Linked DNA regions of Homo sapiens: region 1 is linked to region 2. The links are contacts of gene promoters, found by promoter capture Hi-C in human tissues and cell types (Jung and others, 2019). All regions are on one chromosome and are shown on one strand. The core of a region is centred on a gene start or on the middle of the fragment in contact, and the rest is flanking DNA. Distances in the headings are between cores, read along the strand shown. Region 1 overlaps PRKCG (protein kinase C gamma). Region 2 holds the start of NLRP7 (NLR family pyrin domain containing 7).

Region 1 (4,855 bases), core at 940-3,439, 1.1 Mb before region 2:
TGACGCCCAGGCTGGAGTGCAGTGGTGCGATCTCGGCTCACTGCAAGCTCCGCCTCCTGGGTTCACGCCATTCTCCTGCATCAGCCTCCTGAGTAGCTGGGACTACAGGCGCCCACCACCATGCCCGGCTAATTTTTTGTATTTTTAGTAGAGATGGGGTTTCACCGTGTTAGCCAGGATGGTCTCGATCTCCTGACCTGGTGATCCACCCGCCTCAGCCTCCCAAAGTGCTGGGATTACAGGCGTGAGCCACCACACCCAGCCGATTCTTGAGTTTTAAAAAATCTATCAAGCATGATCATCTTAATCTCTCCATTCATTCATTCACTCACTGAATATCCTTCTTTTTCTTTCTTTCTTTCTTTCTTTTTTTTTTTGAGACAGAATCTCCTTTTGTCACCCAGGTTGGAGTGCAGTGATGCAGTCTCAGCTCACTGCAACCTCTGCCTCCCAGATTCAAGTGATTCTCCTGCCTCAGCCTCCTGAGTAGTTGGGATTACAGGAGCGCACCACCACACCTGGCTAATTTTTGTATTTTTAGTAGAGATGGGGTTTCGACATGTTGGCCAGGCTGGTCTCGAACTCCTGACCTCAAGTGATCCACCCGCCTTGGCCTCCCAAAGCGCTGAGATTAGAGGCGTGAGCGACCACGCCCAGACGAATACCCATTTTCTAGGGTGTCATAAGCCAGGCCCTGTTCTGGGAATAGAATCAGGCCATTCCCTGGTGGAGCTCTTCTTCTAGTGGAGGACAAAGTTACAAACCCAGACATTCACAACGAGGAGCAATGCTGCTGTAATGGAGACAGCCTCAGGCACTGGGGCGTCCCTGGCACAGCCTGAGTCAGAGAAAGCTTCCTAGAGAGGTGAGACCTGGTAGAAGGGCGGGATTTCCCAAAGGAGAGACCAGATTTTCAGGCAGGAGGAAGTAATGCTCTCTCCCTCATTTACCCTTTCAAAAAATACTTTACAGAGCATCTTTGTGTGCCAGGCGTGGCTCTACTCACTGGGGATATAGAGAAAGCAGGGAAAGAACAAACAAACAAACAAAAAAGTTCCTTTCCTTATGGGATTTACACCGGGAGGAAGACATTAAACAAAATATATAAGCATATGATAGACTGGGCACGATGCCTCATGTCTGTGATCCTAGTAAGGCGGGCGGATCACCTGAGGTCAGGAGTTTGAGACCAGCCTGGCCAGCGTGGCAAAACCCCATCTCTACTAAAAAATACAAAAATCAGCTGGGCATGGTGGAGGCGCCTGTAATCCCAGCTACTCGGAAGGCTGAGGCAGGAGAATTGCTGGATTCCGGGAAGTAGAGGCTGCAGTGAGCCCAGATCGCTCCACTGCACTCCAGCCTGGATGACAGAGGGAGACTCTGTCTCAAAAAAAAAAAAAAAAAAAAAGAAGACAAGAATCTTCAAGATTCAACAACAGCAACAACATGTTATAGTCTTTACTGGACTCTTACAGAAACTTTCACCAGAGTTTTTAATGTTGTGTGTGGGGGTTCACCTGCATCAGAATTCCTAGAGTGCTTGCTTTTAAAAGCACATTCCCCAGCCTTTCTGCAGACCTACTCAGTGACGATCTCTCTGATGCCTCAAATGTCTGCCTACTAAATTAATTCCTCAGGTGATCCTTTTGCAAAGTTAAGTTTGAGAATGGGCTCTGCGGCCGGGCGCAGTGGCTCACGCCTGTCATCCCAGCACTTTGGGAGGCCAAGGCGGGTGGATCACGAGGTCAGGAGATCGAGACCATCCTGGCTAACACGGTGAATCCCCGTCTCTACTAAAAATACAAAAAAATTAGCTGGGCGTGGTGGTGGGTGCCTGTAGTCCCAGGTACTCAGGAGGCTGAGGCAGGAGAATGGCATGAACCTGGGAGGTGGAGCTTGCAATGAGCCGAGATCGTGCCACTGCACTACAGCCTGGGTGACAGAGCGAGACTCTATCTCAGAAAAAAAAAAAAAAGAGAGAATGGGCTCTGCAGGAGACAAGGGTACCAGCGGGAGGACATTCTGAGCCAAAGAGGTAGAGTCTTTTGAGATCAGCAGGGATGATCCTCCCGTACAAACCCAAGAAACCCAGCAGGGCAGATGGTGGGCAAAGGCCTAGAGGCAGGGAGTGTAGGGTGGTGTGTGTGCCTGTTGTGGCTCACAGCACTCTCCCACAGTTCAGCAGGCACCACTTAATATTACCAATGAACACCAACTCTGTGCCAAGCCTTGAGCTAGGTACGGGGCTAACAACACAGCAAACAGAAACAGCCCTGATTATTATTATTATTATTATTATTATTATTATTATTATTATTATTATGTATTTATCTATTTGAGACACAGTCTCGCTCTGTCGCCCAGGCTGGAATGCAGTGGAGCGATCTCAGCTCACTGCAACCTCTGCCTCCCGGGTTCAAGCGATTCTCCTGCCTTGGCCTCCCAAGTAGCTGGGACTACAGGCATGTGCCACCATGTCCTACTAATTTTTATATTGCTAGTAGAGATGGGGCTTCGCCATGTTGGCCAGGCTGGTCTTGAACTCCTGACCTCAGGTGATCTGCCCACCTCGGCCTCCCAAAGTGCTGGGATTACAGGCATGAGCCACCGCACCCAGCCCTCAACAAATATTTATGTAGCCTCAATGAGGTAGGCAGTGTTACTGTGTCTTAGCGAACAAAGCAGACCCCTGCCTTAGGGAGCTCACAGGCAGAAAGCAGATAGTCACACAGATAGATGTAAATTACTAAGAATAAAAGTGCCAGGAAGGTGCTGTCCATGGTGACCAAGGGGTGGTAAGAGAGGCATCTGACCCAGTTTAAAAAGTCAGGCGAGGCCTCTATGAAGTGATGCTTGAGTCAAGGTCTAAAGGGTGTTTGGGAGACAACTAGGAGGGAAGGGGAGGGGAGAGCTTTACAGGAAGACCTAACGGCACATCCAGAGGCCCTGAGGTGGGAGGGAGGACAATGAGTGTCAGGCCAGGGTGGCTGGACCATGGAGCCTGGGAGAGAGAAGAACAACCTGCAGTGTCAGTCTCAGCCTGGCTCTGCAAGTCATGTGGAATAAAATCTTAACACAGAGGGAGCAGTTAAAGGGTTTACAAGCATAGGGGAGACATGACCTGGTTTATTTATTTTTAAATTGGCTCCTGTGCCTGCTGAGTAGAGAATGCATTAGAAAGGGCAGCCGTCCATGTAGAGGGACAAGTGTGGAAGCTGTGACAGCAGCTTAGTCTTGGGCCCCCTCCCTGGGGGGCCGAGGCAGGAAAAGGTAGAGAAGGGACCCTAGCTGAAAGCCAGGTGTGCTCCCTGGACTGGCAGCACCCATGTCACCCAGAAGCTTTTTACACATAACGATTCTCAGGTCCCACCCCAGATTTATAGAGTTAGAAAATCTGGCAGTGGGACCCAGCAATCTGTTTTACCAAACCCTCTAGGGAATTCCGGCTTAGAGGCTAAGAGCAACCAGATTCTAGAGCTGGACTGCTTGGGTTTCATTTCTGGCTCTGTCCTTTACCTGCTGTGTGACTTGGGGCAAGTTACTTAACGTCTCTGTGCTAGTCTCCTCTTCTGTAAAATGGAAACGATAGCAGGGTTTTCTGGAAACAGCATATGATAAGCTATCTAAAAAAAAAAAAGAAGAAAAAAAGAGCTAAGTGTTTGTTGAATAATAAATAAACCCTCCAGGCTATGGGGAGTCAGAGAAAATTAAGCCAAGGACAGGGTAGGAGGGTGGCCATTTTCCTCTGTCTAGCGATTCTCATCCTTTCCTTTCTTGGGTGCTGTGTCTCTTGGGAGCATTTCCTTATCGCTGTGTAAGGTCTAACTGCCTCTGGCTCTTTCTTTCTCCTTTCCACAGCGGGTGCGGATGGGCCCCTCTTCCTCTCCCATCCCCTCCCCTTCCCCTAGTCCCACCGACCCCAAGCGCTGCTTCTTCGGGGCGAGTCCAGGACGCCTGCACATCTCCGACTTCAGCTTCCTCATGGTTCTAGGAAAAGGCAGTTTTGGGAAGGTTGGATTCCTGGGGTTCTGGGGGAAAGGGAGGATGTCTGTGGGAAGGTCAGATTTCTGGTTCTTAGGGAGGAAGTGGGGGTGGGAAGAGACTGGGCTCCTGCATCTTCAAATATGGTTAGGTTGGGCCGTTCAGGTTCCTGGAGAGGAGAGGTTTACAGATGTGGACACTCTCCTTGAGGGGACGGGCGGCAAGTCAGGGCTGTCAGTCCCTTAAGAGATGGAGGAAGGGCCTGGGATCCCGTTTCCCTGCGTCCCTTAGGGAGGGGGCAGGTCCTGTACCACTGGGTTCCCAACATGGACTGGCCCTTTTGGAACTGTGCGCATAGGTGATGCTGGCCGAGCGCAGGGGCTCTGATGAGCTCTACGCCATCAAGATCTTGAAAAAGGACGTGATCGTCCAGGACGACGATGTGGACTGCACGCTGGTGGAGAAACGTGTGCTGGCGCTGGGGGGCCGGGGTCCTGGCGGCCGGCCCCACTTCCTCACCCAGCTCCACTCCACCTTCCAGACCCCGGTAAGGATGGAGGGGGCGGAGGCTGTCCTCCGGGCCCTGCCTTATCCAGTTCTGGACATCTGCGTTGGGATTCTGAGTTTAGGGCGAGGCAAGAGAACTTTGTGCTCTCTGAGTGGGCGAGGCCAGGCGGATTGTCTCCTCAGGGGGCGTGGCCGGGGGGGGGTCCTTGGGGGGCGTGGCCAGGCGAAGGGACTCATCGGGGGGCGTGGCCAGGCGGAGGGGCTCAACGGAGGCGAGGCCGGGTGGAGGGGCTCCTCGGGGGCGTGGCCAGGTGGAGGGACTCATCGGGGGCGTGGCCAGGCAGAGGGGCTCTTCGCGGGGCGTGGT
Region 2 (5,193 bases), core at 1,060-3,559:
CGAGTGAGACTCCCTCTCAAAAAAAAAAAAAAAAAGAAAAGAAAAGAAAAATTCAGGGTTTTTTTTTTCTTTTTCAGAAAGTCTTGCTCTGTCGCCCAGGCTGGAGTGCAATGGTGCGAGGCTTACCACAACCTCCTCTTCCCGGGTTCAAGCGATTCTCCTGCCTCGGCCTCCCAAGTAGCTGGGATTACAGGTATGCCCCACCACACCTAATTTTTTTTGTATTTTTAGTACAAACGGGGTTTCACCATGTTGGCCAGGCTGGTCTTGAACTCCTGACCTCAGGTGATCTGCCCACCTCAGCCTCCCAAAGTGCTGGGATTACAGGTATGAGCCACCAGGCCTGGCCAAGTATTTTTTTTCCCAAGTACATTTTTTTCTTTTTTTCTTTTTTTTGAGATGGAGTCTCCCTCTGTTGCCCAGGCTGGAGTGCAGTGGCACAATCTCGACTCACTGCAACCTCCACCTCCCAGGTTCAAGTGATTCTAGTGCCTCAGCCTCTCAAGAAGCTGGGATTACAGGCGCACCGCATCACGCCGGGCTAGTTTTTGTATTTTTAGTAGAGACAGGGTTTCTTGTTTTTTTCTGAGATGGAGTCTTGCTCTGTCACCCAGGCTGGAGTGCAGTGGCGCGATCTGGGCTCACTGCAAGCTCCGCCTCCCAGGTTCACGCCATTCTCCTGCCTCAGCCTCCCAAGTAGCTGGGACTACAGGCGCCCGCCACTATGCCCAGCTAATTTTTTTTGTATTTTTAGTAGAGATGGGGTTTCACCGTGTTAGCCAGGATGGTCTCGATCTTCTGACCTCGTGATCCGCCCGCCTCGGCCTCCCATAGTGCTGGGATTACAGGCGTGAGCCACCGCGCCCGGCCGAGACAGGGTTTCTCTATGTTGGCCAGGCTGGCCTCGAACTCCTGACCTCAGCTGATCCACCCGCCTCGGCCTCCCAAAGTGCTGGGATCACAGGCGTGAGCCACCGCATCTGGCCATTTACATTTTTTTTTTTTTTTGATGCAGCATTTCACTCTGGTTGCCCAGGCTGGAGTGCAGTGGCGCAATCTCAGCTCACCGCAACCTCCGCCTCCCGGGTTCAAGTGATTCTCCTGCCTCAGCCTCCCGAGTAGCTGGGATTACAGGCATGTGCCACCACGCCCAGCTAATTTTGTATTTTTAGTAGAGATGGGGTTTCTCCATGTTGGTCAGGCTGGTCTCAAACTCCCGGCCTCAGGTGATCTGAAAGTGCTGGGATTACAGGCGTGAGCCACCGCGCCCAGCCTACTTTTTTTTTTTTTTAAACAGGGTCTTCATCTCATCCAGGCTGGAGTGCAGTGGCTCAATCACACCTCATTGCAGCCCCCACCTCCTGGCTCAGGTGATCCTCCCACCTCACCCCACAAGTAGCTTGGACACAGCACAAGGTCTGGCCTTCTTTGTTTTTTGAGACGGAGTCGCACTCTGTCTCCCAGGCTGGAGTGCAGTGGCGCGATCTCAGCTCATTGCAACCTCCCCCTCCTAGGTTTAAGCTATTCTCCTGCCTCAACCTTCCAAGTAACTGGGATTACAGGCATGCACCACCACACCTGGCTAATTTTTGTGTTTTTAGTAGAGACAGGGTTTCACCATTTTGGGCAGGCTGGTCTCAAACTTCTGGCCTCAAGTGATCCACCCGCCTCGGCCTCCCAAAGTGTTGGGATAACAGGCATGAACCACTGTGCCTGGCCTTATATTTTTTTGTAATGACAGAGTTTTACCATGTTGCCCAGGCTAGTCTCAATCTCCTGAACTCCTCTAAACTATATTTGAATAGAAGTCCTTAAGACATTAGGCCAGGCGTGGTGGCTCACACCTGGAATCCCAGCACTTTGGGAGGCCGAGGCAGACAGATTACCTAAAGTCAGGAGTTCAAGACCAGCCTGGCCAACATGGTGAGACCCCGTCTCTACTAAAAATACAAAAATTAGCTGGGCATGGTGGCACGTGCCTGTAGTCCCAGCTACTCAGGAGGCTGAGGCAGGAGAATGGCGGGTGAACCCAGGAGGCGGAGTTTGCAGCGAACCAAGATCACGCCACTGCACTCCAGCCTGGGCGACAGAGGGAGACTCCGTCTCAAAAAAAAAAAAATCAAAGATCCTTCCAGCATCCTCGCACCAACCATTAAGGCTTGGGAAGGGCTATGGTGGAAACTCAACCAATAGCTTCTTCTCCCTTAAACGAGAAGACAAAGAAATCGATGCAAGAACCAGCACTCACCTCCCTCAGGTCAGGTCTTGCTTCCAGCCTGTGTTTCCTGCAAAGGAAACGGATAAAAAGGGGAGGTCTCTGGCCCTTGGTACGCTAGGTGGAGAGACAGCTTTCCCGCCCAGGGTGGAACCGCCCCACTGAGATTAACATTGGGTGGCTCCCAACCACTGACCTCAGGCTCACCTTGACATCACCTGGGCCCCATCCTCAGGGATTTGGCTGTAATTGGGCTTCAGTGGGCTTTGGAGAATTACGGCTTGCTGAATCTCCCCAGGTGAGATTAATGTGCAATTCCCTTCCTAGACCACCCGGGCCAGGTGTGATAGGCGACAGAACAGGAAATACACATTTTGGGTTTTGCAGGGTACCTGGCTCCCAGCTTTAAAAACTCTTGTAGAGAAAAAAAATTAAACAAAAATAAATAAAAATTAAAAAAAAAGAGGACAAAAACTCCCGTGACTTCCTAAGTTACAAATACAATAAGTCTACTTTGTGGCCAACTGTGGTGCCTCCTGCCTATAAATCCCAGCAGGCTGAGAGGCCTAGGCCAGTGGATCCCTAGGGGCCAGGAGTTTGATACCAGCCTAGGCAACATAGCAAGATGCCATCTCTTCAAAAATATTTAATAATTAGCCATGCATAGGCTGGGCGTGGTAGCTCATGCCTGTAGTCCCAGCAATTTGGGAAGCCGAGGCGGGTGGATCACCTGAGGTCAGGAGTTGGAGACCAGACTGGCCAACGTGGTGAAACTCTGTCTCTACTAAACATACAAAAAATTAGCCAGGTGTGGTGGCAGGTGCCTGTAATCCCAGCTACTCGGGAGGCTGAGACAGGACAATCACTTGAACTAGGGAGGTGGAGGGTGAGTGAGGCACGATCACGCCATTGCACTCCAGCCTGGGTGACAAGAGCAAGACTGTCTCAAAAACAAAAACAAAAAAATTAGCCATACATGATGGGCTGCACCTGTAATCCCAGCTATTCAGGAGGCTGAGGTGGGAGGATCACCTGAGCTCAGGAGTTTGAGGCTGCAGTGAGCTGTGACTGGCCATCTCACTCCAGCCTAGGCCACAGAGTGAGACCCAGTCTCAAAAAAATAAATAGATAACTGATATTTAATTTTTTTTTTTGGATGGAGTCTTGCTCTGTGGCCCAGGCTGGAGTGCAGTGGTGCAATCTCCATTCTTGCAACCTCTGCCTTCCAGGTTCAAGCAATTCTGATGCCTCAGCTTCCCAAGTAGCTGGGACTGCAGGCACATGCCACCATGCCCAACTAATTTTTTGTATTTTTAGTAGAGACAGGGTTTCACCATATTGGTCAGGCTGGTCTCAAACTCCTGATGTCAGGTGATTACAGGCATGAGCCACCGCACCTGGCCTAAAATTGTTTTTAAATAAAACAGTGTATGTTGTGGAAAGCATTCAGCACAGAATTTTGGTAGTTTAAACTGTTAATTTAATGGAAGCAAATGGTCCCACAAATGAAGATGTATATATCAGTTGCAGCATGCCATCTATAGAAATAGGCACTATGGAGGCCTGGCATGGTGGCTCACACCTGTAATCCCTGCACTTTGGAAGGCTGAGGCAGGTGGATCATCTGAGGTCAGCAGTTCGAGACCAACCTGGGCAACATGGCAAAAAACCCCTGGCTACTAAAAATAAAGAATTAGCCAGGCATGGTGGTGTGCACCTGTAATCCCAGCTACTCAGGAGGCTGAGGCGTAAGAATTGATTGAACCTGGGAGTTGGAGGTTGCCGTGAGCCGAGATTGCACCACTGCGCTCCAGCCTGGGCGACAGAGACTCCATCTTTAAAAAAAAAAAAAAAAGATGGCCAGGCGCAGTGGTTCATGAATGTAATCCCAGCACTTTGGGAGGCTGAGGCGGGAGGACTGCCTGAGTCCAGGAGTTCAAGACCAGCCTGGGCAATATGGCGAGACTCCCTCTCTGAAGAAAAAGAAAATAAAAACAATAAAAATAAATTATATTCTAGCTGACAAAAAGAGAGAGAGAGTATATTTTGTTAAAACATTTGGCCTTTAGTCCTAGAGCAGCTATGGAGAGATAAACATGAAAGAGGTATCTCTTGTTATACATACCCAGGCCCTGCAACCACACCTGAGTTTATGTAAATGAGGTGACTTTTGGAAAGCCCCTAGATAACCCCACAAGTGCGAGGGACTGGCTGCCAAAGAAACCGTCAGTGATTAGACATTGGGAACTTTCAGCCCCAGGCTCCAAGTGGCCTCCAGGGAGGGGAGAGGGGCTGAAGGTTGAATTGATTATGAACTGCCAGCTATGTGATCAGCATTGCCCACCTAAGGAATCCTCCATAAACCCCAAAAGAAAAGGGTTTGGGCCGGGTGTCCTGTGGCTCATGCCCGTAATCCCAACGCTTTGGGAGGCCTAGATGGGAGGATTGCTTGAGCCCAAGAATTCTAGGCCAGTCTGGACAAAATAGCAAGACCCTGGCTCTACAAAAAATAAAAAATTAGCCAGGCGTGGTGGAGTGCACCTGTAGACCCAGCTACTCAGGAGGCTGAGGCATGAGAATCACTTGAACGCAGGAGACAGAGGCTGCAGTGAGCTGAGATAGCGCCACTGCACTCCAGCCTGGGTGACGGAGTTAGACTGTCTCAAAAAAAAAAAAAACCAGGAAAGAGTTCAGAAGAGCTTCCTGGTTGGTGAACCCGGGTGCATTCGTGTGCCAGGACTGTGGTGCACCCCAGGTCCACAGGGACAGAAGCTCCTGCACTTCGGACTCCTCTAAACCTCCCCCTACGCATCTCTTCCTTGGCTGTTCATTTGTATCCTTTAAAATATGAAAGGGCGGGTTGCCCCTCCACACCTGTGGGCATTTCTCGTTAGGTGGAAGGAGAGACTTGGAAAAGAAAGAGACACAGACAAAGTATAGAGAAAGAAATAAGGGGACCCAGGGGACCAGCATTCAGC

What was found. Contacts are between HindIII fragments. The study calls those that stand out against the background at their distance.
Region 1: a fragment that was not itself captured here is called in contact with the fragment with the promoter of NLRP7 in region 2 in 1 of the 25 tissues and cell types used here (spleen).

Annotation. Positions count from the first base shown.
Region 1 is chr19:53,894,101-53,898,955 of GRCh38, forward strand. It overlaps PRKCG (protein kinase C gamma), which reads left to right. Exons shown (of 18, transcript NM_002739.5): 10 at 3,859-4,011; 11 at 4,340-4,528. Among named protein-coding and RNA genes, the nearest start is that of CACNG7, 13 kb to the right of the region's middle. RefSeq lists enhancers at 4,675-4,855, 4,677-4,855. The HindIII fragment of the contact is 6,042 bases long and covers 1-4,855 here.
Region 2 is chr19:54,945,221-54,950,413 of GRCh38, forward strand. It overlaps NLRP7 (NLR family pyrin domain containing 7), which reads right to left and starts at 2,310. Exons shown (of 11, transcript NM_001127255.2): 1 at 2,249-2,310. The HindIII fragment of the contact is 18,328 bases long and covers 1,308-5,193 here.